Linked DNA regions of Homo sapiens: region 1 is linked to region 2. The links are contacts of gene promoters, found by promoter capture Hi-C in blood cells and fetal thymus (Javierre and others, 2016). All regions are on one chromosome and are shown on one strand. Each heading gives the region's core, a stretch centred on a gene start or on the middle of the fragment in contact. The rest is flanking DNA. Distances are from core to core; before and after follow the strand shown.

What was found. The method cuts DNA at HindIII sites, captures the fragments that hold promoters and counts their contacts. A CHiCAGO score of 5 or more calls a contact.
Region 1: the fragment with the promoter of CTTNBP2NL here is called in contact with the fragment with the promoter of LRIG2 in region 2 in 2 of 17 cell types (neutrophils and non-activated CD4 T cells); the score reaches 9.3 in neutrophils.

The regions. Positions count from the first base shown.
Region 1 is chr1:112,394,288-112,399,296 of GRCh38, reverse strand. CTTNBP2NL (CTTNBP2 N-terminal like) reads right to left here and starts at 3,083. Exons shown (of 6, transcript NM_018704.3): 1 at 3,025-3,083. RefSeq lists a silencer at 2,836-2,885. The HindIII fragment of the contact is 10,453 bases long and covers 1-5,009 here.
Region 2 is chr1:113,071,490-113,076,321 of GRCh38, reverse strand. LRIG2 (leucine rich repeats and immunoglobulin like domains 2) reads right to left here and starts at 3,124. Exons shown (of 18, transcript NM_014813.3): 1 at 2,677-3,124. The coding sequence starts at 2,915. LRIG2-DT (LRIG2 divergent transcript) reads left to right here and starts at 3,220. Exons shown (of 3, transcript NR_103777.1): 1 at 3,220-3,383. RefSeq lists enhancers at 1,955-2,004, 2,604-2,663, 2,280-2,811, 2,844-3,153, 2,812-3,345 and 1 more. The HindIII fragment of the contact is 20,110 bases long and covers 1-4,832 here.

The DNA.
Region 1 (5,009 bases), core at 1,834-4,333, 680 kb after region 2:
CCCAGGCCGGGGCGCAGTGGTGCAATCTCAGCTCACTGCAAACTCTGCCTCCTGGGTTCAAGCAATTCTGCTGCCTCAGCCTCCTGAGTAGCTAGGATTACAGGTGCATGCCACCACATCCAGCTAATTTTTTACATTTTTGATAAAGACGGGGTTTTATCATGTTGGCCAGGCTGGTCTCGAACTCCTGACCTCGTGATCCACCCGCCTCAGCTTCCCAAAGTGCTGGGTTTACAGATGTGAGCCACCAAGCCTGGCCTCAGAAACTATTCTTGAACAAAAATCAGCAATCAGTCCCTAGTGATCTCTCCTAAATTCACTTCATTCCTATCAGGTCAGATATTTAGAACAATAAAATCCTAAAATGATTAGCACTCATTACGTTCTTAAGTCTGGTTCAAATTTCATGACAGTAAAATAGTATTTTCTAACTAGCAGATTACATATATATTTTTTTAACTTTTTTTTTTTTTTTTTTTGTTAAGAGACAGGGTCTCTTTCTGCTGCCCAGGCTGGAGAGTGCAGTGGCATGATCATAGCTCACTGTAACCTCAAACACCTGGGCTCAAGCAAGCCTCCTGCCTCAGCCTCCCAAGTAGCAAGGATTACAGGGATGAGCCACCACACCCTGCCTCACAGATATTTCTTTATAAGAAATTCAAAATTTTAGTCACTTAAGACACTGGAATTTCATAAGACAGAAGATGGGGAAAATCAAGTTAAATGAAGACAACAAGTAGGCCGTTTATACTAACAAATTGTGCCAAATCTAATCAGTACATTGCCTTTCAGTCTACCCTAAGGTGACAGCCTCAAACTAAGTTAAACAAACACTCATGAAGTCATACTATATACTAGGAACTGTGAAAGATATAAAGATGAAAAACAAAAAATACTACTATCTGCCCTCAAAGAATTTATAATTCAAGGAGAGAGATCAGACATCTATCCTCTGCATACTATGCTTTTCTTCACCTAGCATGACCAAACAGGTGTTGAAAAGGTTAAAGGAAAGATTTTCAAGACCCAAAAGTGTAACAAACAGATCTTGCTTACTGTGCTAAATAATAAAAGAATATTATTTGCTTTTTCCTATTAAACCTCGGCAATCACAACTTTGGTTTGCTTAGTCTCTTACCTTAGTTTATTTTCTGTTCTCTGTTGATATAATACAACTTATCTTTTTGGGATTTTCTGTTCTGCTTTTAGTTTTTTCTGCTGTTATTGCTGGGAGCTCACGTCTTACCCTTCTATTGCAGCACACATTGCGTTTGCTAGAGACACCCTCCAGTTTCTTCTTTGTACTTTCTTACTGGAGATTTGGAAACAATCACTGAGAAGACCTGTGAGCACCGAGTGGCTCTGAAAACTTCAAACCTAACTATTCAAAAGTAATTATCTTTAGGAAGTCTACCTTCAGAAAGTCTAATCAAGAAGGTAAAAGACAACAGTCATTACAATCACCCTCCGTGATTCCAACTCCTTGCATTTTATTGCCATCAGCTTTGGCTATAGCTGACAGAGGGGAGGTAGACTTGAGATTGGAAGCAAAAGAAACTATGCTAAAAACATGGTAAATTTTAATATATAAAAGCGCTAGCAATAGATGATTACTGGGGATTCAACGACATTAACATGAGGTCAAAATCAACACTTTGCACCTGCTGAAATGAAGACCACTTGACAAAACCTTTAGGAGCACACTAGAAGAGGCACTTTTTGGTAAACATGAATAGCTAGAATACCTTGCCTTTATTTACTCTTATCTCTGAGATTTAAAAATTGTTCTTACTTTTCATCCTCTAAATTTTGATAGATGATCGTAAAACCAATCAAAATATACATGAATGTTTCCTGGGGGCGGGGAGGACACTATAAAAAAGGGGTTAGAGAGTTACCAAAGGACATAGGACTAGATTAATCATAAACCTAGATGACTGACCCTGAATTTTCTTCAAACACTTCCTGTCTTTTGTTTCAACCTGCAGTATACCTTCAAGGTTAACTGCAGTCTCCCTGAGCAATGGACCAGCCCACCCTAGACTGGGATATACTCATTCCTAATCCACTGCTACTTATTTACTTATGTATACTGTTTCATTTGAAAACATGGTGTTATTCATTGACTGTCAAGCAACATATACTGCATTCCTGCCCACACAAAGCCAGCTCTGCAGATATCCAACACACCCACCTCACTGTGAAATATAAGATGGCTTTTCATCAAGTTCTCAGGGAGGAAATAGGGTGGAAAAGGAAAAATGAAACGCAATTCAAACCTAAGAAACCCTTAGAGGCTGGGTGCTCCCAGAAGGAACAGAAAGTAGAAGGAAGGTACAAAGGGTGAAGGAGAGGAGGTCCTAGTTCTCCCTCTTTCACAGTCCAAAACAGTCCCAAAACAGGAGAGCTCTCGACTCCTCACAAGAGGCCAGAGGATGCGAGGGGCTGCGGGAGGAAGACTGAGCATCAGAGAATGGGGGATGGGAAGAACTTAAGTGGGAGAAGCCGCTTCCTCCGTAAAGCTGGCTGTCTAGGTCGGTCTTTGATTTTTGCTTCGCCCCATCCCTCCTTTTTGGGAAACACCAATTTTATCTTACGGAGGAAAGCAGCTCCAGTCCCACCCTGGCGAGCAGGGACAGGTGTAGGGAGGGATGTTTGGCCTTCCGGGGGTACGAAATGGGGTTGGGGGCGGCAGCCTAGAGAATCGGTACCTGTGAGTCCTCTCCGCCAAGGCTGAGGTGCGGGGTGGGAGGTGCCTTTGAATGAGGGGTGTCAGAGGGAAGCCCCTTCTGAGGAGCTGGGAATCGACGAGGGACAAAAAGTAGCTGTGAGGACCCTCGGAGGATGAGGAGCCGCCTCCTCGGGGAATACCGGGAGGTGGAGGAGACGGCCCCGCCCCCTCAGGGGATGGGCCCAGAGGCCGTTGAGACGGCGGCGGGAGGCTACCGGTGCCCCTATCCTTGCTTTGCTCTTGAGAACCCGGCCTCCCAGCCATCACCAAGCCCCAGGGATAGTTGCTCCTACCTTTCCACGACGCTCCGGGCTCCGCTCCCCTCCGCCTCCACTCCCCATCCACAGCGGCTGAGGCTCCGCCCCCTCAGCCGCCCGGCGGGGGCATTGGCATTCACCAGCGCCAATCGCCTCCTTGCTTCTCCAGCCTCGGCCCCAATCCGCGCCGGCTGGAGGCGGGGCTTCTCCAAAGTCATTCAGGCTCCTCCCGGGGCCCCAAGATCCCTTTTGTTTGGGAAGAGCAAGGCCGGGATTGAGCTCGCGTCACTTCCGGGAGGAAGCGCCCTCCTGGGTCCTGGGCTTCAGGGTGGGCTCGCGCCCCTCCCGGCTCGGGGTCTGCAACTTTCCACCTCTGCGTGAAAAGTCTGGGCAGGACCGTGACTAGTGCTTCGTGCTTTTACCTGACTGTACGCGGAGTTTAGGAATGGAGGGCTCTGGTGGCCTAATCGATTGGGATTTTATCCAGAATGTTAATAAATGAAGTGGGCTTTGGTGTCTGCATTAGAATGAATTCGTTGTTGAAAAACCTGGCTTCCTTGCTCCCTTTTTTTTTTTCTTTTTTCTGGAAGCGCCTGTGGGCGTGGTGCTGGAAGCAAGGGTGCAAAGATGAAACACCTGGAGATCACCCTTCTCTCAACCACATTTTGTACAGAAGAGGATACTAACTTTGGGGGACATAAACCCAGCCGACCTGCCTTCCAGGCGGAAGTCAAATAATTGCAAATTTGTGTGGCAGGTTTTTCCACCCTATGCTTGCCAGCTGAGGCGACTTTTTTCTTTCCTTGGCCTCATTATATTGTGGGGAATGGTGTTTGCAGTGAAGTTGAAACAATGGAGAGTACAGAGGATGCAAGGAATGTCTGCCTTGTGAACACAGGAATGCAGATCTTGGTGGCAGCAAGTCTTAGGCAGGACCAAATAACTCAGAGAGGGGAGTGGATGTATAACTAGTTGTATCCCTACCTAAGGTCAAAGTTTCTGAATTCCTTTTCCACAGAATGGCTGTCAGCTCACAGATTGATGCAGCTGGTTACATTTACAATAACCACATTATTTAAAATACAATATAATAAATATTTGAGACGAATATTCATAATGCATAAATAATGTAGTACACTTAATACATTATCCCTAAACTTAGCAATTATAATTCGCAAGACAGCATTAGGGACCTAGTGCTTGCCTAGGCAGACAGTCCCCAAGGCAGATGCAGCCTGCCTCATGCAGTTTACAGTCTGACTGAGGGATGTGATCAGTTTGTGCGATTATAGTCTGAAAGAAGTAAACAAGTATTTATCATGTTATCACTGTGCCATGTACTTTCATTTAATGGTATTTGATGTCATTTTCAGTGCTGTATGAGAAATCTATCCTACAGTGTAGGATAGACATCATTGTGTCCAATTTACAGATGAGAAGATAGAGATTCAGAGAAGTCAAATAAAGTCATAGAGCTAGTAAATGGTAAAGAATTTCCAGTAAGGATGTATGACTCCATACTTATGCCATATTCTGCTCACTTCACACTGGCTCTCACATGCTGGACTAAGAATGGGCGTGGATGATGGTAAAGCAAACATTAGAGCCAGAAGGACAGCTCTATGCCTCCCCCTGTTGATTTTAGGCTTGGGAGGGTCATCTCTGTATATGAAGGATAGCAAGACTATGAGTGAAGGTGCTCGATAGCAGTGTAAGTGAATCTGGAGTAATGATGCAGGGTATACTGAACTTCAGAAAGGCATTATGCCTTGTGTTCTGAAAACTGACAATCTGAAAGCTAAAATGAGGGGCCAGGCACAGAGTAGGTACTCAATAAATATTGACTTGAAACAAAATGTCTGAAATGATTACAAATACAGAGTGTTAGGTGCTGGAGCAGGCAAAGGAACTTGAAAAATCCCATTTCCTCCTCCTCCCTTTCGCTCTGCCTATGTGTATGCAATGAGGAAGTGCCTCATCGCCTGACAATGAAGCAGATGTGGGAGAACAAGCTATTTTCT
Region 2 (4,832 bases), core at 1,875-4,374:
ATGTAGGCCCGGCTGTGGCCAAGCGCAGTGGCTCGTGCCTGTAATCCTAGCACTTTGGGAGGCCAAGGTGGGCAGATCACCTGAGGTCAGGAGTTCAAGACCAGCCTGGCCAACATGGTGAAACCCCGTCTCTACTGAAAATACAAAAATTAGGTGGGCATACTGGCTCAAGTCTGTAATCCCAGCTACCTGGGAGTCTGAGGCAGGAGAATCACTGGAACCCAGGAGGCAGAGGCTGCACTGAGCCGAGATCGTGCCACTGCACTCCAGCCTGGGTGACAGAGCAAGACTCTCTCTTAAATAAAAAAAAAAAAAAAGTAGGCCAGGCCGGGCTTGGTGGCTCATGCTTGTAACCCCAGCACTTTGGGAGGCTGAGGTGGGTGGATCACCTGACATCAGGAGTTTAAGACCAGACTGGCCAACATGGTGAAACCCCACCTCTACTAAAAATATGAAAAATTAGCCAGGCATGGTAGCGCACGCCTGTAATCCCAGCTACTTGGGAGGCTGAGGCAGGAGAATCGCTTGAACCTGGGAAGCAGAGGTTGCAGGGAGCCGAGGTCACACCATTGCACTCCAGCCTGGGCAACAAGAGCGCGACTCCATCTCAAAAAAAAAAAAAAAAAAAAGTATAGGCCACATTCATTCCAATTACAGCTAAATGAAGCTGTTTTGTCAAATCTGTGCCAGACTTATTGTTATAATCAGGTAGCTCTTCCAAGAATGTCTTAGAAAAAGGCACTTGCTGCATAACAAAGAGGCTGTGCTAGGTTTAACTGACACTACACTGCACACTGATAGGAGTTTTTAAATTTGGGTCAATAAAACCAGAAGTGACTACAGGTGTCACTACCATGAAAGAGAAAGCATCTTACTACACTGCAGTTCTATGTTTACTAAAAGATTTGATTATTTATGTTAATTTTTTCAATGACTACATGAGGTAGCTTTCTTTCCTATCTGTGCTAACCTATTTGCAAATATATAAATACTTCTTAAACTCCGCAACACCTCTTATTTGTATTCTATTTCCAATAAAAATCCAAGCAGCCTCTCATATTTTAATTGCACTTCAACCTATTTTTTTAGTGATGACTCTTTTTTTTTTTGAGACAGAGTTTCACTCTTGTTGCCCAGGCTGGAGTGCAATGGCACGATCTCGGCTCACTCCAACCTCGCCCTCCCGGGTTCAAGTGATTCTCCTGCCTCAGGGTGTAGCTAGTATTACAGGCACGCGCCACCACACCCAGCTAACTTTGCATTTTTAGTAGAGATGGGGTTTCTCCATGTTGGTCAGGTTGGTCTCGAACTCCCAACCTTAGGTGATCAGCCCGCCTCAGCCTCCCAGAGTGCTGGGATTACAAGCGTGAGCCACCGCACCCGGCCCCTCTTCCTCCCCGACCCTCCCTCCCCCCAGACGGAGTCTCGCTCTGTTTTCAGGCTGGAGTGCAGTGGCGTGATCTCAGCTCACTGCAACCTCCACCTCCCGGGTTCAAGCGATTCTCCTGCCTCAGCCTCCCGAGTAGCTGGGACTACAGGCGCACACCACCACACCCAGCTAATTTTTTTGTATTTTTAGTAGAGACGGGGTTTCACCATGTTGGCCAGGATGGTCTCGATCTCTTGACCTCGTGATCGGCCCGCCTCGGCCTCCCAAAGTGCTGGGATTACAGGCGTGAGCCACCGCGCCTGGCCCATTGATGACTCTTTCTTAACGACTCCATCAGAAATCTGTCAGTTAATAAACGTGCTGCTCAGTTAGTGACGAGAAATAACTGTATGTTAGTGGTTAAGAAGCCCCATAATTGCAGCATTTAATACCTGCTGTTGTTCCTAATACCACCAGGCTGACTCAGACTAAGGAGCCCTCCAAGTTCCACTGTCTAATAAAGACCTGTCAAAGTGAAAACTCAACAGTGGAAACTCCAGAATTCATTCAACCGTTGTACCTGCTTTACCTACATAAATAAGCAGAACTGATTTTTGGGTTCTTTGCCACAAGAAGATGCGCTGAAAACAAAGCATCAAATGGTTCTGCAAAAAATACTCCTCCTCTTTACAGTGAAGTTTAAATTAGATCAAGAATGCTACTTACAAAGATATTCTGAATTACAGGATCTCCTGATTCATCATAATGAACTTTTCAACCCTGTTAAGTATCAAAACTGCAGCACAAAATCAGCCAACATGCGAACTAAGGACTAAAGACAGTTCATAGGTCTTTGGCGATTGTGATTATAAAATCACGTGCCTGAGGACCACTAAGTCTGAGGTACACACCAAATCATGCAGCTCAAGATAAGCAGAAAGCACTGTTCCGTGCTCAACCCACCCCCCGCCCCACCAACCATCCAAAGTCAATGCTGGTGCCCAGGACCCGTGAGTCCTTACCATTAAATATGCCCGCCCCATTTCCTCCCCAGTTGAGGAAATCACAGACTCCTTGGCCCCAAGAATCTTAACCCTCGTCTTCATACAATTCTCCAGAAACCTTAACACCGGCTTTTTTAGGCTCCCACCACCTAAAACAAAGTTCATAAAATCCTGACGGCAGTTTCCTTCAGAGCTTAGGCTCTCGACCACACCCTCCGACCAGGCCTGTCTCCCTCCTGCCTGCCCCCTGTAGAGGGAAGGCTCCCCCTCCTTTTGGTCACTCTGCCTGGCCGCTCTACTCACAGGATAGCGGTGTCGGGGGGCAGCAAGCCCGACAGCGCCCTCCAGCTCGGTGCGGGCAATTTCCTGCGACTGCAGTCCAGGAGAGGAATGCGGCAGGAGCAGGGCGCGGGGCAGAGACCTGCTCCGGCGGCGGGCAACAGGAGGAGAGCGGTCTGGGCAATGAAGAGTAACCGAGAAAGCACTCTAGATCGACACCCCAGCAACTGCTCCTCCGGGACGCCTAGGGGCGCCGGCGCCATTTTCCCCCTCGACCTGGACGTGGCCTAGAAGAGCTGCCTGCTAGAAAAGGAGGATCGGCGGAGAAGCTCAGCAGAGATGCTCGGTGGCTGCACTGTCTCCCGAAGCCCCGGCTGAAGGCTGTACCATCTAAAGGCATGCAAGGAGCAGACGCAGCGCGACAGCGGGGTCGACGGCCTGGGACACACGGCCTGACGGACACCTCTCGTCCGCCCCTCCCCACGGCGCAACGTCCTCACGCACAGGGGCCAGCCAATCGGTGCCATAAGATGAGGTTGCGCCCGGGGCGGAACTCAGTGAGGGGCGGGGCCAGACGCAGCCGAGTATCTTGAGGAGAAGGACTTTAAAGCGTTCAGGGATTTTAGCTGCCGCTGTGGAGTTCCGCCGCTGTTCTTCCGCTGGAGGGCGCAGTAGTTCCTTAAGAGGGAATGGTGCGGCGAATAGCTGTGAGTTCAAAGTCCTGACTACAGGTATATCTACTGTAGTAGAAAAGGATCTTTTATTTGCTCTGGGCTTTAAGAAAGGGGAGTGGCAGAAGGGCTGCCTTCCAAGTCGCACACACGAATGGGTCACGGGAGCTTCTATCCTGGCTTTGGCCAGATCGGCCTCCAGAGCCGAGCTCGAGCCTCTTCTGCCCCCTGCTGCTTGGCTGTAGCCCCTGCTCTTCTGCAAGTAGGCGGCAACTGCCATTTGCATAAGATCAATATCACTCTCTGTTAATGGCCTTGTAAGCTCCTGAAGGCAGAGGCCCTGTTTCTTCATCGGTGCACCTCCACCTTTTGTTCTAGCTTGGAGTTCAATAAATTTTGGTGGGACTGCACCTGCATGTCTATATAAAGGAAATACCCTTCTCTTTGGAGGGATGCTGTCAAGGTCACTCTCAGAAAAGCAAGCGAGACAAGAGGGTGTTGAGCAGTCAACAAAGCAAAGACTGGATGTGAGGAAATTTATTTCTCCTAAAGCAGAGGCTATGGAAAACTTACTAGGAACAGTGAAGTCTGGCCATCTTATGCTCATTCAGCCATCCAAGGTTGTAAATAAGACTTTGAGAATAATAGTGATGGTTCACTTATACGTAGTGAACTTTTCAAAGGGCGTTTGCATCTGTTATCTTGTTTGCTCCTTCAGTGACTGTGACATTGGCAAGACAATTATTGCTGATGATGCAACAAGCCCCAAGAGGTTAAACCAAGTTACTCTTGAGGCAGGGGCAGGTTCGACATTAACATGGGTTTTCTGACATAAATTGAAAATCTGAGCAGGTTAAAAAGAATGATAATGCCTAGGTTAGGGTTCTCATAGAAAGTAACTGAAAGCAATCTTTCCCATGGCAGATTATGGAGTCATAATTATGTTTTTAAAAACCTTTTTCTGTTTTTTTTTTTTAATATTGAAGTATATATTGGAAACAAGGCCATATCCAATGCTACAGTCCAAACCAAACTTTTAAAGCCAAGACAGCGGAATGAAACTTACTCTTAGCCTTCTTCCCTTAGCTGTTGAGCAGACTTAACAAACTCTGGTAAGAAATCCGGCATAGGCAGGAACCTTACAAAAAAAAAAAGGAGGCAGTTTAGTTCCTTTCTACATTATAGTTTCAGAGCTTTCCTATGAAACTATACCAAATGGGGCCATTAGAAATTAATGCTCTCTAACCTGTATCCTCCGCAGTAAGTGGCTCACTGCAATCTCTGCCTGCCGTATTCAAGCGATTCTCCTGCCTCAGCCTGCCTAGTAGCTGGGACTACAGGTGTGCACCACCATGCCCGGCTAATTTTTGTATTTTTAGTAGAGACGGGGTTTTGCCTTTTTGGCCAGGCTGGTCTCGAACTCCTGACCTCAGGTGATCCACCCACCTCGGGCTCTCAAAGTGCTGGGATTACAGGCATGAGCCACTGTGACTGGCCACAAATACACGT